2 separate regions of the Homo sapiens genome follow, and region 2 is linked to region 1. Evidence: promoter capture Hi-C in human tissues and cell types (Jung and others, 2019). All regions are on one chromosome and are shown on one strand. Each heading gives the region's core, a stretch centred on a gene start or on the middle of the fragment in contact. The rest is flanking DNA. Distances are from core to core; before and after follow the strand shown.

What was found. The method cuts DNA at HindIII sites, captures the fragments that hold promoters and counts their contacts. A contact is called where the count stands out against the background at its distance.
Region 2: a fragment that was not itself captured here is called in contact with the fragment with the promoter of EPHA3 in region 1 in 1 of the 25 tissues and cell types used here (dorsolateral prefrontal cortex).

The regions. Positions count from the first base shown.
Region 1 is chr3:89,104,521-89,111,751 of GRCh38, reverse strand. EPHA3 (EPH receptor A3) reads right to left here and starts at 4,131. Exons shown (of 17, transcript NM_005233.6): 1 at 3,916-4,131. The coding sequence starts at 4,003. RefSeq lists an enhancer at 4,150-4,289. The HindIII fragment of the contact is 4,313 bases long and covers 2,566-6,878 here.
Region 2 is chr3:88,006,894-88,014,124 of GRCh38, reverse strand. No RefSeq gene overlaps it. Among named protein-coding and RNA genes, the nearest start is that of CGGBP1, 48 kb to the left of the region's middle. The HindIII fragment of the contact is 3,227 bases long and covers 1,780-5,006 here.

The DNA of each region.
Region 1 (7,231 bases), core at 2,882-5,381:
GATTCAGAATGAATTAATTTTGTGATAGATTTTGAGAGGTTACAAAAAGTTTCTTTACGGGACATTCAAAATATTATCGTAGCAATTCAGATTGTCAGTAAAAGCTTAAACAAATTTGCTGATAATCCTGTTAATGACCTAGGTCAAGTGTTAACTGTTGTGGGTTATAAAATAGTGAAAATAAGGTTTCTCCTACCTTCAGGCAAATAGCACAGTTAACCATGGAGGCGGGGTGGGGGGGGGATGTAGGGGTGAGCTATTAGGAGAGCTATTAAATTACAAAAATGTATAATGCATTCAATTATTTAGTCTAGCATGATGAAATGCTATGAAAAGCAAATGTAAACCCTCTTCCAAACCAAAAAAACTTATAAAGATGATATGATAGCTTAGTTCTCTATTAATGTTTTAATCACAGTGTGTTCTTATTTGAGGAAAAGTGTTTATATATGAAAAGTGATGCCAATTTATTGTAATTTTTAAAAATGAAAAAATTGATTATTTATTTTCTCCAACATTTGCCTACTACTCAAAGGGAAGCTTATAATATTCATATGCAAGTTTTACTTTTAAGTTTTAAACAATTGCATAGTTTCCTCTAGTATTTAGAATATTTATATTTAGGGAAATGCATTTCATAGAAATAGTGTCTTAGCTACTAAAAAAAGTCTTTAAAAAAGTAGTATATAAATATGAATATTTAATTTTATTCAGTTTTATTTTGGATACTCTATTTTCAATATAAAGAGCTTTCTAGGTAAATGTTAATCCAATTTATGAACTCTTTTGGATAGAAAAAATGATTTAGTGTATTATGTGCTGATGAATTAATAGTGCATTGTACCCCAGACTGCCATAAATGTATAAAAGTGTTTAAAGAAAGTATTTTTACCAATTCTGAAAGGGTTGAAGTAACCACAGTTGATAATTTTATTTTATATCCAGTTTTAACTTTGTTCCAATGTTATTTCTGTTTACCATTAATCATCCCTGTGGTATGGAAACTAGGAGTAAGTATATGAACTTTTAAAATAATACGTAGTGTAGCAATCATATTTTGCCATGAAAAACAGCTGATCTCCCATTAAAAGTCTTTTCTTAAGCCATGTAAACAGAGAGACCTGATAAGAATTTAATAAAGTTTTTATAAAGTTCTGTTTAAGTATATAGGCCAATTGCTGAGTCAAGTGATCATTGGAATTATGAATATCTGTTATCGTTGATGAGTCCCTATTATCACCTGGAGTCATTTTCTTGAAAGCATATAAGAGAGATATTTGTAAATACATTAATAGAAGGAAAATTCAGATTAAACATTTTCTAAGTTATTTTTCTTATCAGGGACCCATGGCATTTCAATATTGATGTTTAATGATTAAATCTTAAATTAAAAAACACATCACACAACTGCAAATGTCCTAGCAATTAAGTCAATGGCCTGGTTTTGTTCTCTTTGGTTCTCAAATGCCTAACTTCATAACAGATTGAAGAATATATTCTAGTAAATATGTTTCAGTAAATTTCTCATAAATTTTTTACAGTGTTGAAATATTTCAATCATAATATTTTAAATACAGTCTAGTATTTCATATTTCAAAATTAAAAAATTATATCAGAAAACTACATTAATACCATTTTTAAATCACCACTCCTCTCATATATACATTTTCAAAAGAATTGCTTTCTATTTAAATTACATTGTTAGAAAAATTGCACGGAAATCTTGGCACATACTTGGCATTTTCACTTTTCATGTTATTCAACTCAACTGAGAGCCCAGCTATGGATAATATTTAAAATCTCACTCAAGTATTACCTAAGTTAAATCATCTTAAATTTGTTTTAAAGCTTCCCTTCACAATCACAGGAAGGAAAAGAGACACTACCCATAGGACACAATCTGGAAGGAATAATCCCATGAATGATGGATAAACTTTCATCCAAGCAAATTAAATGCAATTATGTCAGCTTTCTGAATATATTTACCTTTCTATATCCATATGGTTAATGTGTACCTGTCTGTATAATTATATACATTATATCCCCAAACATACATGAGGTGAGGCTTAAAAGCAATTTGTATTTGATTAACTCTGTTTCATTAAATTAATACTGATTAATTTTACATAGGTGTGAAATAGTTTGGTGTCTTTTTTTTTCTCTTGCAGTTTACTTAAAGGTTGTTTTCCACAAAAATACTGACTAACAGCTACATTCTTGTGCATAATTAATTCAGTAATATCCATATCTACATAGTTCATAACCATTCTATCTGGAAAATATAATTTATCATGACAATGTGGGAATTTTAATACTATTTTTCTAGTTATTGTCAATATTTTAATATCTGCAAAGAACAAAAATTTTTAAAACATTAAGTTTAATTTATTGATATGTTACCTATTATACATGTTACCCGTTATACAAATGAATACTCTTACCTTTCATTCAGGAAGAATGATTGACTCTTACTTTCAAATAAACATTTTAATTTGGTTTGTAAAATAAAAAGTCATTTGTGGGTAAGATAATTTTCTTGATCCTTATATTTTAGAATTTTCATTTTCTTATTTAGAAAAAAGATTCAGAACATTTAATGAAAACTGCCAAATTGATAAAGGCAGTCAGTAAGGAAGGAGATAAATTACTGCTCTATTAGCAGTGAAAGTAGGTCACCGAGTATCAGGCAGTTATTACATTTAATAAAAAACTTTCTAAGTATTTTGTTTTTACTCGTGTTTTTAAAATTAAGGTACATATACAACAGTATTGGCTTGACAATATATTTTCTAAGGAGTGATGTATATAACATGATGTTTGCACATCAGTTGCTCGGTATTGTTAACTTGCAAAATAAATTGCTAAATGTTACTGTTATAAGTTCAAAATCACTAAGAGGAAATTAATGTTGTAAGTGTGGCTTTACACTAATCAATTATTTAGAGAAGTTTGTTTTACGAGTTAGTGACTGTATTCACAAGAATAGATCACAAAAGGAATACAGGAGAAAGAAAATGTATGTATTAAGTACACAATCTTATAGAACACATTGGTGTCCTTAACATTAGGTTTGCACTTTAACCCACTGAAAAGGAATTAATGCTCATTACAAGGATAATAAATAACACAACATCAAGGAAATGCCATTTGCTGCATATGAACATTCTCTCTTAATCTACTATTCAGTTATTTACTATATCTTCCCAGGAGCTATCCACTATTCATTAAATACATTCTCCTATTTGTATATAAGCCTTTAAACAAAGAGAATCCAACCTAAGCTTATTGTAATTCTTGCAAATATTACTTACGTTAATGTGGCATATGCTGCTCTTTAGAACCTGTACCATAGAGCAAACCATTGCCTGGCGGGATACACACAACTTCAACACAGCCCTTGCACCATAAACACGCACCTCCGCTTCGACAAACTCTGATTTCCCTTTAGTCCATTCATAAATGCCATGATCCCAAGTAGGAACAACCTGTCATTACCTTTAAACATACTAAAGAGTCTAGAGAGGAAGGCTGAATTTTCTTTCAAACTTCTCGGAGTACCACATGGTCATAATTAGAAAATAAAATACTGCCTTGGCTATTTGGCAATTAACATAACTGGGTTGCAACGCTGGAGGATTTTCTTTCTTTCTTTCTGCTCAAATTGGCAAACAAGGTAATTGCTCGAAATGGTGTCAGATTAAAAACACATTTTCAAAGTTTAGACCATCTAAAATTATCTCCTGAAGTGTTTTAGAAGACAGTTGGAAAAAAAAAAGGCACATCTTTCCTTCACTCTCAGAGCAAACTGCTCTATTCGGAGGCACCTTCCCGACGTGCAAGGCTTCGGTGAGAACGTGCTTTGAAGAGCGTGAGCCCCGCGGGGCAGAGCTCCGTGCGTCGCGGTACCTGGCTTACCTTCATTGGAAGGCTGCGGAATCAGTTCCCCGAAGCTGTCGAGAACAGAGCAGCTGAGAAGGAGGAGGATGGAGAGCTGACAATCCATGTTGCTGGTGCAGAGGGCAGTGAGAGGAGCATATCTCCATGAAGCATGCCACTGATGTGAGGGGGAGCGCTCTGATTGCTGGAGAAGTTACCATGCTCCGCTCGCAGGCTGATGTCAAGTTTGACACTGGAGATAAGGAGGAGTCTGGCTGCCTTTCCGCGAACCCCGCTCGGGGACTTCCCTGGGTCCTAGTGCCGTCTTCAGCGTGCGCTGAAGCAGAGCGGGATGGCACGCAGCTGGCTCTGCAGCCCAGAGCTGCTCGGGAAGGAGACCGGGTGGGAGTGGGGGCGTCGCCCATGGGACAGGAAACACAGAAGATGTGATGAGGCCGCGGTGCTGAGAAAAATGCTCCCTCTTTTGTGTTGCATGAAAAGTAGCTGTTTTATTGTTTGCTATCCATGCTCTGTTGCTTAATTCACCGAAGAAATCACAGCCTTGATAGGAGTATCATATGGCAATGTGAGTGCAAAAGGAACTGAAATGCGAGAGAAACGTGTGTTTTGAAAGAATAGCAGTCTTTCGTTAAAAAGTCAATCATGTTTGTATAATTGAAAAAAATGATTATAGTTATTCCTTTACTGTGTTCAATGTGATCATAACTCTCCATGAGTTCTTTGTGATTCAGAAAGACACTAATACACAGCCTGAATCAGAGGGTCTCTGCATTTCCACACCCAATGGTATCGTGGCTTTTTACTAGATCTGGCACAGTGATTTTCCGCGCACATAGAGCATACTTTGTTTTTTTTCAAACAGGGAAGTTGACCTTCATCATCTTACGGAAGGGAGCAAGTCTAACCCCAGCCGGAGGTCTACATTCTTTTCTCGTTCTGTGTTGTAAAAGTAATACAGATCAAACCTAAATTTCTTAATAATACATATCCCCCTCCCTCACCATCTCACATTAGGATCTCTGGGTTCTGCAAGAGAAACAATGCATAATTCACAGCTCCTCCATTCAACTTTCAACCACTGATAGTCTAATAATATTGGGGTATTCTTATTCTTTAACATTCCAAATCCAAAAGCTAAATAATAATGTCCTCGTACTTTCTCACTTATTTTACACCATGACTATCAATGGTCTCTGTTATTTCCAATCCCATTGCTGAACAACCTATTGCAATCTAGTTCAGCCAAACAATTTTGTAATTTATATTTTAATAACCAGCATCACTTATCTTTAAAATATCTCCCAGAAAATGGTTACTCAGATATCCTTCCGCCCATCTATCTCTTCTTATACTAAAAAGAAAACAAGATTATTATATTCCTCTCACAACTTCAGAAAATAAAGGTATGTTGATAATCTTAAGATCAGTGATCAATTTTAGAGCTCTTGATAATGAAACTTAAATGAAAGTTTGAAAAGCCCTTGCTAATAATGTATTCAGTCCACAAACTCAATGTTTTTAGTTAGAGAACACAATTTTCACTTGAATTTAAGTTAATGGTGCCAGATAATAGTTTGATGACTGGGGTGGGGAATTGGGGTGGATAGAAGCAGCCAGGGGAAAAGAGAGATCCTTCTCACTTTTCTGTGTATGCCATGTTACTTTGTGTCTCTAACTTCTTTCCACATTGTGTCACCAGAGGCTGCGCAATCCTCAAGTGCCAAGTCTGTCAGAATTGAAAATAATAGCAGATACTGCCCAGAGAACTTAGACAGTGGTGACTCTGGTGTTTTTTCAAAGTTCCAGCACAACACTTACATTGTTCCAAAGTTAGATACACGTTTTCTGAAACTTGAAAGAAACTAAAATCTTATTTGGAATTGACAATTTGAAAACATTTTGGAGAATCTGCCAATGTGCTGACACGCAGATCCATTGGCGCCCCTCATGCTATTTCTCTTTTCACACTTGAAAACTTAAAAACTGCTTGTCACTGGGAAAAAAGGCATTCATGTTTGCAGAAAGCTACAGGAGTGGCAAAATGAGTACAAAGCAATACCTGGCCTGAAAATAGAATGTAAATGATATAGAATCTCTAAATTGTCAACTCTCTAGTGAAAAGTAAAAGGTTTCCATTATGTAGGCGCCATTCTGGACAGATGGGGAAAAGGGAGTGATGCCAATAAGCAGAGAAGAGCAACCATAGCAGGAGTGGAAAGGATGAGGTGGGGGCAGCAGATGCAGGGAAGCCCTTATTAAGAAAGTGGTAGTTGAGTTGCAGCTTGAAGGATGGGTAGGAGTTCACTAGTAAGAAAATGATTCAGAAGGAACTGCAGGCAGGCAAGTCCAGAGAGTGTCCAAGTGAGCCAAAAATGAAAGCATTTGGCACATATGGAATACAGAGTATATTAGAGTATTTGTGGTAGGTAAAGGGCCGGAATAGGAGGAGGTATGGATTGGAGACAAAATGTAGGGAAATATTCTTCAAAGGACTGGTTGAAAACTACAGAGATTTCGATGCCACATGTCAATGATTTTACAATATATTTTAAACTAAAGAGAGACATCAAAAGCATTTCAGCAAGTAGTAAATTGATCATGTCTCAGTCTGGGGACAAAAGTTTACTAATAGCATAAAACAGGATGTCTCCACCTGGGTGCAATGCTTATTAAGAAGTGATGCCTTCTTCCCACCACAGACTTACTGGACCTAAACCTCCGAGGTTGGAACCCAGGAATCTGCAATTTCACAAAAGCTTCTCAGGTAATCCTTGGGGTCCCTGGAGAACCACTGCCCAATGTGAAGGAGGGAATATTAGAGGTAGGCCAGTTAGACTTCAGGCTATTTTTCAAGTAAGACTGAAGTGATAAGGAACTGAACTAGGATCTCTCAGAAAGAAGAAAGATAAAAGGGAAAATGAGAAGACCATTTTAGGTTAAACAAACAATACTCCCCCAAGGAAAACTGGATTTAGTACATAACTCAAGTTAGGAATTAACAGTTCCCTGGGGGAGATGGCAATTGAGAGGAAACTGAAAAGGGGCATTTTAAAGAAAAGTGAAAAACAAGATTTCTGGAGGAAATGACAAATGTCTCTATTATTAGAGTATAGATTTCGAAATTGTGTCAGCGGGTATGGGAAAGAGGAGACACCGGCTAGGAAGAAGCAGGGTCATGAAGAGTTGTATTAGCTGCTCTAAAAAGCTTGGACAGGGGTGCTGAGGGGCAAGGCAGAAATAGTTCAATTTGCATTTTAGAAAGATCAGTTTGACATATTTAAGAAAGGAGGGGAAAATGAAAGTGAAAACTCCAATGAGAAGCCAAAAGACAAAT
Region 2 (7,231 bases), core at 2,144-4,643, 1.1 Mb after region 1:
GAATAATGATCTGATAATTGGAAGAATGACCTTAAGTTACGCTGACTGCAAAAATAGCCTAAAGTATTCTCTTCCCTGTATTCATGTTTGTTATCATATGTTGGCAGCTCCTTCCATAAAGAGGTATTTTTCCCCATCCCTTGAACCTGGACTAGCCTTATAACTTGCTTTGATGAATAGAAGGCAGCAGAGAAAACACTATACCAGTTCTGAGTATGGTCCTCAAGAAGCCTTGTGTGCTTTCTGCTTACTCTTTTATACAATGTTGCTTTCTCATTTTTGCAACACTGCCACCACAGTGTGACAAAGTTCAGGCTAGCTTGTTGGCCAATAATAGATTACACGGAACAGAATTAAGTCATCTCAGCTGAGGCCATCCTAGACCAGCCAGCTGCCAGCTGACCAACAAAGCTCAGCTCAGAGAAGCCAAACCACCCAGCTTATTTTTAATGCCTATTAAAAAAAGTTTTATTGAAGTATAACGGATGCACAATAAACTATATGTATGTAACATGTACAGTCTGCTAAGCTTTGATGTATGTGTGCACGCATGAGACCATGAACGTGATGAACGTATGTATCCATTATCCATAAAAATTTTCTGAAGCCCCTTGGTAATCCTTCCTGCTGGTCCCTACTGGTCCCCAACCCCAGGAGACCACTTCCATGCTGTTACCACACGTTAGTTTTCATTTTCTAAATTTTGTATGTATGAATAAAATAGTATGTACTCTTCTTCTGGCTTTTACTCAGAATAATTATATTGAGATTCAGCCATATGGGAGTGCTTATCAATGGTTCATTCCATTTTAGTGCAAATTTACCTATTGATGGAATTTGGTTTCCACTTTTTAGCTTTTACAAATAAAACTGCTATCAACATTCATGTACCAGTGTTTGTATGTATATATGCTTTTATTTCTCTTGGGTGGAATGTGGAGCGTTTGGATCATAGAGTAGGTGTATGACAAACTTTTAAAGAAACTGAACTGCCTAAACTGTTTTGCAAAGTGTATGTACTATCCCACATTCCCACTATTATTATTCCCACCAGTATTAAGAGCATTCCAGTTCATCCACATTCTCTCCTACACTTGATATGATCAGTTTTTAATTTTATTTAAAATATAGCCATTCTAATAGATGTAGAGTTGTATCTCAATGATTCTAGTTTGTGTTTCCCTGATAACTAATGATGCTGACCATCTTTTCATATGCTTATTTTCCATTTGCTATTTTCTTTGATAAAGTATCTGGTCAAATCATTTGCCAATTTTTACTGAGTTGTTCATTTTCTTACTATTGAGTTTCTTTATACTGTCTGAATACAAGTTTTTTATTCTATATATAATTGGCAAATGTGTTATGCCCATCTGTGGTTTAGAGATTATAGAAATATCAGTTTTTGTGTATTGTTTCTCTATCCCATGGTCTTGATAAATTATTTGTTCTATAAATTTTTTGAAGATTTTATTGGGTTTCTATTAATTTATAATCTACTCACAACTGCTAATAAAGAGAATTTTGCTTCTTTCTTTTCAAACCAGGTGCCTCTTATTTATTTTTTCTTGCCTATTCACACTGACTACAACCTCTAGCACAATGTTGAATAGAAGTAGAAATATTTGTGATTTTTTTTCCTGATCCTAGGAGGAAGGCATTCAATCTTTCACCATTAAGTATGATGTTAGTTATAGATTTTTAATAAATGCTCTATATCTGATCGAAGATTTCTCTTCTATTTCTATTTTACCAAGATTTTAAAAAATTTTAATCTGATTACTATTTATTTATTTATTTAATTTAATTTTATTTTTTGAGACAAGGTCTCACTATTGCCCAGGCTGGAGTGAAATGGTACAGCCTCAGCTCACTGAGCCTCCTGGGCTCAAGTAATTCTTCCACCTCAGCTTCCCTAGTAGCTGGGACTACAGGTGTGTGCCACCATGACAGGCTAATGTTTTGAATTTCTTGTAGAGACTGGGTTTCGTCATGCTGCCCAGGCTGATCTCAAACTCCTGGGTTCAAGTAATCTGTCTGCTTTGGTCTCCCAAAGTGCTGGGATTATAGGCGTGAGCCACTGGGCTAAGACTAAGATTTATTTATTTATTTTTTAAATCAGAAATGGGTGTTGTCAAATCTATTGAGATGAACATACAATTCTTAAAACTTTGATTGATTCTTTAATGTTAAACTAACCTTGCATTTCTGGGATAAATATCCCACTTGAAAAACAATGGTGAGTCAGGTGGGTGGCTCACACCTGTAATCCCAGCACTTTGGGAGGCTGAGGTGGGAGGATCACTTGAGTCCAGGAGTTTGAGACCAGCCTGGCCAACATGGTGAAACCCTGTCTCTACTAAAAATACAAAAATTAGCTGGGTGTGGTGGCATGTGCCTGTAACCCCAGCTACTCGGGAGGCTGAGGCAGGAAAATCACTTGAATCTGGGAGGCAGAGGTTGCAGTGAGCCGAGATTGCACCACTGCACTCCATCCTGGGCAACAGAAAACAAACAAACAATCCAAGAAACAATGGTGCATTTTCTGTTATATATTGTTGGGTTAATTTGATAAAATTTTGTTCAGAATTTTAAACCTATGTGCGAAATATTAGCACATAGTTTTTTTCCTTGTAATGTCTTTTTTTTTTTTTTGTCATAGTAATGCTAGCATCATAGAATGAATTGGTATGCATTCCCTTATACTGTGAGGCCTGAGATTCCATGGGTTGCCCTGACATCTTCGAGCCTCCGGGGCTTCCAAGGCCTAGGTGTGTGTTCTCATGCTCTTATCAGATTTGCCCCCCACCAGTGTGAAAGGTTCTCTGCCCAGCTAGTTCTTCTATTAGCTGGACCAATTGCACTCTACCTAGTCTTCAACCTAAGAGGTTTTATTTCCCTGTCAGCTTGTAAAATTATTCAAAGAAGCCAATCACATCCTCCCATAGGAACCAGTGGTCACCCCACCCCGTTTTCCCTACATGGCCTGCCTCCCACAGTTTCTGCTTTACTCTTTTGCTGAGTGCAAGCTTCATGTGGCCATGTGGCTTGCAGTATCATCTTCCCTGGCCTGTGAGTACTGTATATGTGACTAAGCTTAATCTCTTAATTTCTTAGTCTCATCGGTACAGTGTTAGGTGTTGTGTGTTTGGCTATCTTGTTCTACTCAGGGTGGGGACTCCTCCTTAACGAACAGGGTGAGTAGGAAGTGATTAGAACATCTCTTCATTTCAGTTCTCTAGAAGAGCTTGTGAGGAATTCGTATTGTTTCTTCCTTTAATGTTCGGTAGTATTGACAGTGAAGCAAAGTGGCTTGGGGTTTTCTTTATGGGAAGATTTTAAACTATAGATTCAAATTTATTAATAGATATAGGGTTATTAGGTTGTGTATTTCTTCTTGAGTGAGCTTTGGTAGTTTCTGTCTTTCAAGATTTTTTTTTCACTTCATCTAAGGTGTAAATTTATAGGCATAAAGTTGTTCGTATTTCCTTATTATTCTTTAGTAACTGTAGATTCTTTTATGAGGTCCCCTCTCTCACTGTATCTTCTCTCTTTTTCATGATCTATCTGGCTAGCGGTTTATCAAGTTTATTGATCTTCTGAAATAACCAACTTCTGGTTTCATTGATGTTTCTCTTTCTTATGTCATTAGTTTGTGCTCTGGTATTTATGATTTCCTTTCTTCTATTACTTTGAATTAATTTAATCTTTTAAAATAGTTTCTTAAGGTGGAAGCTAAAGTAATTTATTTGAGACCTTTTTCTCTTTAATACTGGCTCTTATAATAAATTTCCTCTTAAGTAATACTTTACTGGCATTTCCCCAAAATTTGATATGTTCTGTTTTCACATTCAATACAAAATAATTTCTGACTTCTCTTTAGTTTTCTTCTTTAACTTCTAAGTTATTTAGAGTTGTATCAATTAGTTTCCACATGTTTGAGAATATTCCAGATAACTTTTTGATATTAGATTTTATCATGACTAGTGAACACATTTTGTGTGGATTTAATCCGTTTGAATTGAGACTTGTTTTATGGCTCAGAATACAGTCACTCTTGATAAGTGTTCCATGTGCACTTAAAAAGAATGTGCATTATGCTATTGTTGGATGGCATACTCTATAAATATCTATTAGGTCAAATTCTAATATTCTATATCATGCATCAGTAAACTTTTTTTTAAAGAGAAGATAGTAAATATTTTAGGCTTTAGGCTTTGTGGGCCCTAGAGGCTGTGTCAAATTATACTACTCCTAAAGTGCAAGCTGAAATCGTTTATTCAAGATGCTTTTCTTTTTCTTTCTTTTTCTTTTTTTTTTTTTTTTTTGAGACAGTCACGTTCACTCTGTCGCCCGGGTTGGAGTCCAATGGCACAATCTCGGCTCACTGCAACCTCCGCCTCCTGGGTTCAGGCCATTCTTCTGCTTCAGCCTCCCGAGTAGCTGGGATTTTGGGTGCCTGCTGCCACGATCGACTAATTTTTCTATTTTTAGTAGAGATGGAGTTTCACCATGTTGGCCAGGCTGGTCTCAAACTCTGACCTCAAGTGATCCACCCATCTTGGCCTCCCAAAGAGCTGGGATTACAGGCGTGAGCCACTGCGCTCCGCCCTTTCTCTTTTTTTAATAATGGCACTTAGTAGTATAGATTTTCCTCTAAGTACTGCTTTAGTGGTGTTTTTATATCCAATATTGGCATCTAGTGCCAATTTCCTTCTAAATCCTACTCTTCTGTTATAATGTGAAAGCAGCCACAGACACTATCTAAGTGAATGAACTTAGACACTATTTAAGTGATTGCTGGGTCAAATGGTAGTTCTGTTTTTAGCTCTTTGAGAAACTGCCACACTACTTTCCACAATGGTTGAACTAGTTTACACCCCCCAGCAACAGTGTATAAGAGTTCCCTTTTCTCTGCAACCTTGATAGTATCTGTTATTTTTTGACTTTTTAATAATAGTTATTCTGACTGGTGTGAGATGGTATCTCATCGTGGTTTTAATTTGCATTTCTCTAATGATCAGTGATGTTGAACTTTTTTACATATGCTTGTTGGCCGCATGTATGTCTTCTTTGGAAATGTGCCTCTTCATGTCCTTTGCTCACTTTTTGGTGGGGTTGTTTGATTTTCTCTTGTAAATTTTTGTACATTCCTTATAGATGTTGGGTATTAGAGCTTTGTTAGATGCATAGTTTGCAAATATTTTCTTCCATCCTGTAGGTTGTCTGTCTACCCTGTTGATAGTTCCTTTTGCTGTGCAGAAGCTCTTAAGTTTAATTAGATCCCATTTGCCATTTGTCAGTTTTTGCTTTTGTTGTGATTGCTTTTGGCATCTCTGTCATGAAATCTTTGTCCGTTCCTATGCCCAGGATGGTATTGGCTGGGTTGTCTTCCAGGTCTTTTACAGTTTTGGGTTTTACATTTAAGTCTTTAACTCATCTTGAGTTGATTTTTGTGTATGTTGTAAGGTGGAGGTCCAGTTTTAATCTTCTGCCTATGGCTAGCCAGTTATCCCAGCACTGTTTATTGAATAGGGAATCCTTTCTCCATTGCTTATTTTTGTCAGCTTTGTTGAAGATCAGATGGTCGTAGGTGTGTGGCCTCATTTTGGGGCTCTCTATTCTGTTCCACTGGTCTGTGTGTCTGCTTTTGTACCAATACTATGCTGTTTTGGTTACTGTAGCCTTGTAGTATAGCTTGAAGTCAAGTAGTGTGATGCCTCCAGCTTTGTTCTTTTTGCTTGGGATTGCCTTGCAGACACTGGGGCCTACTTGAAGGTAGAGGGTGAGAGGAGGGAGAGGGGCAGAGAAAATAACTATTAGGTACTAGGCTTAGTACCTGGGCGATGAGATCATCTGTAAATGAACCCCTGTGACACGAGTTCACCTGTATAAAAAACCTGCAAGTGTACACCCGAACCCAAAATAAGTTTTTTTTTTTGAAAGGAACTCACAGAATAAAAGAATAAAATGTGGTTGGTTGAATCCATCATTAAGAATTCATCTTAATGAAACAGAATTTTATCTCTAATTGATTCATTGACTTTTTATAGACCCTTAATATTTACAGTTACACTCATGTCTCCAAAGACTTGCAGGTGTGGCCTGCCATGATACATTCACATTGTATCATGAATGAACAGATATTTGATAAATGTTGTTCAATTGACTCACTGACTGAGGAATGGATGTTTCTTCATTTGTAAAATATAAAGAATAATAAAGCCTACTCTCCTCTCAAAAAAAAAAAAAAGGATTACCCTGGTTTTGAGCAATTTGTTTGTAATGTACCTTGGTGTATTTTCCTTTATGATTCTTGTGCTTGGGGTTTGTTGAACTTCCTGGCTCTGTGGCTTTATAGTTTTCATCAAATTTAGAAAAATTTCAGTTGTATTTCTTCAAATAATTTTTCTTTCTCCCCATTTTGAAACGTCCTCTAGGCACTTATAGATATGTGTACATTAGTCTGTTTCAATTATGTGACAGCTCACAGATCTGTTTATTACAAAAAAATTCCCTGTTCTCTGTGGTTTTATTTTGGATAGTTTCTATTGCTGTATATTCAAACTTACTAATCTTCCAATCTGTTCTTCTGAAATGCTAATCTGCCATTAACTACATTCAGCATTTTCATTTTACACATTGTAGTTTTAACCTTTAAAACTTTGGTTTGGGTCTAATAAATATATTTTACATCTCTATTGAACTTTTCAAATGTATAGAATACAACTATAACTTTTAAAATATTGTTGGTTGCTAATTCTAACATGTGCTGACCATTCTAGCTTGGTTTTGATTGAATGACTTATTTTCCCACTTCTCACCAGGCCTAATAATTATTTATGGGTTGCCAGATGATGTAAATTTTACCTCGTTGGGTGTTGAATATTTTTGCATTCCTATAAGAATTTTTAAGCTTTGTTCTGAGTTACGGCTATGTTACTTGAAAACAGTTTGACCTTTTGGGTCTCGAATATAAGATTTCTTTGATGAGAGAAGCTCAATACTTAGACTAGTGCTAATTAATCCCTTTCATTGAGACAAGACCTTTCCATGTACTATTCCCAATGATTTATGAATCATAGGGTTTTCTAGTCTGACTGGTGGGCATAAGCGCTATTCTTGACCACGTGTGAATGATTGGCATTGTTGGCTCTCTATAATTGAAATTCTCTATGATAGAAGTAAAAAAGGGATAATGTCAGGGAAAGCAACAGAGCCATAATGAGTA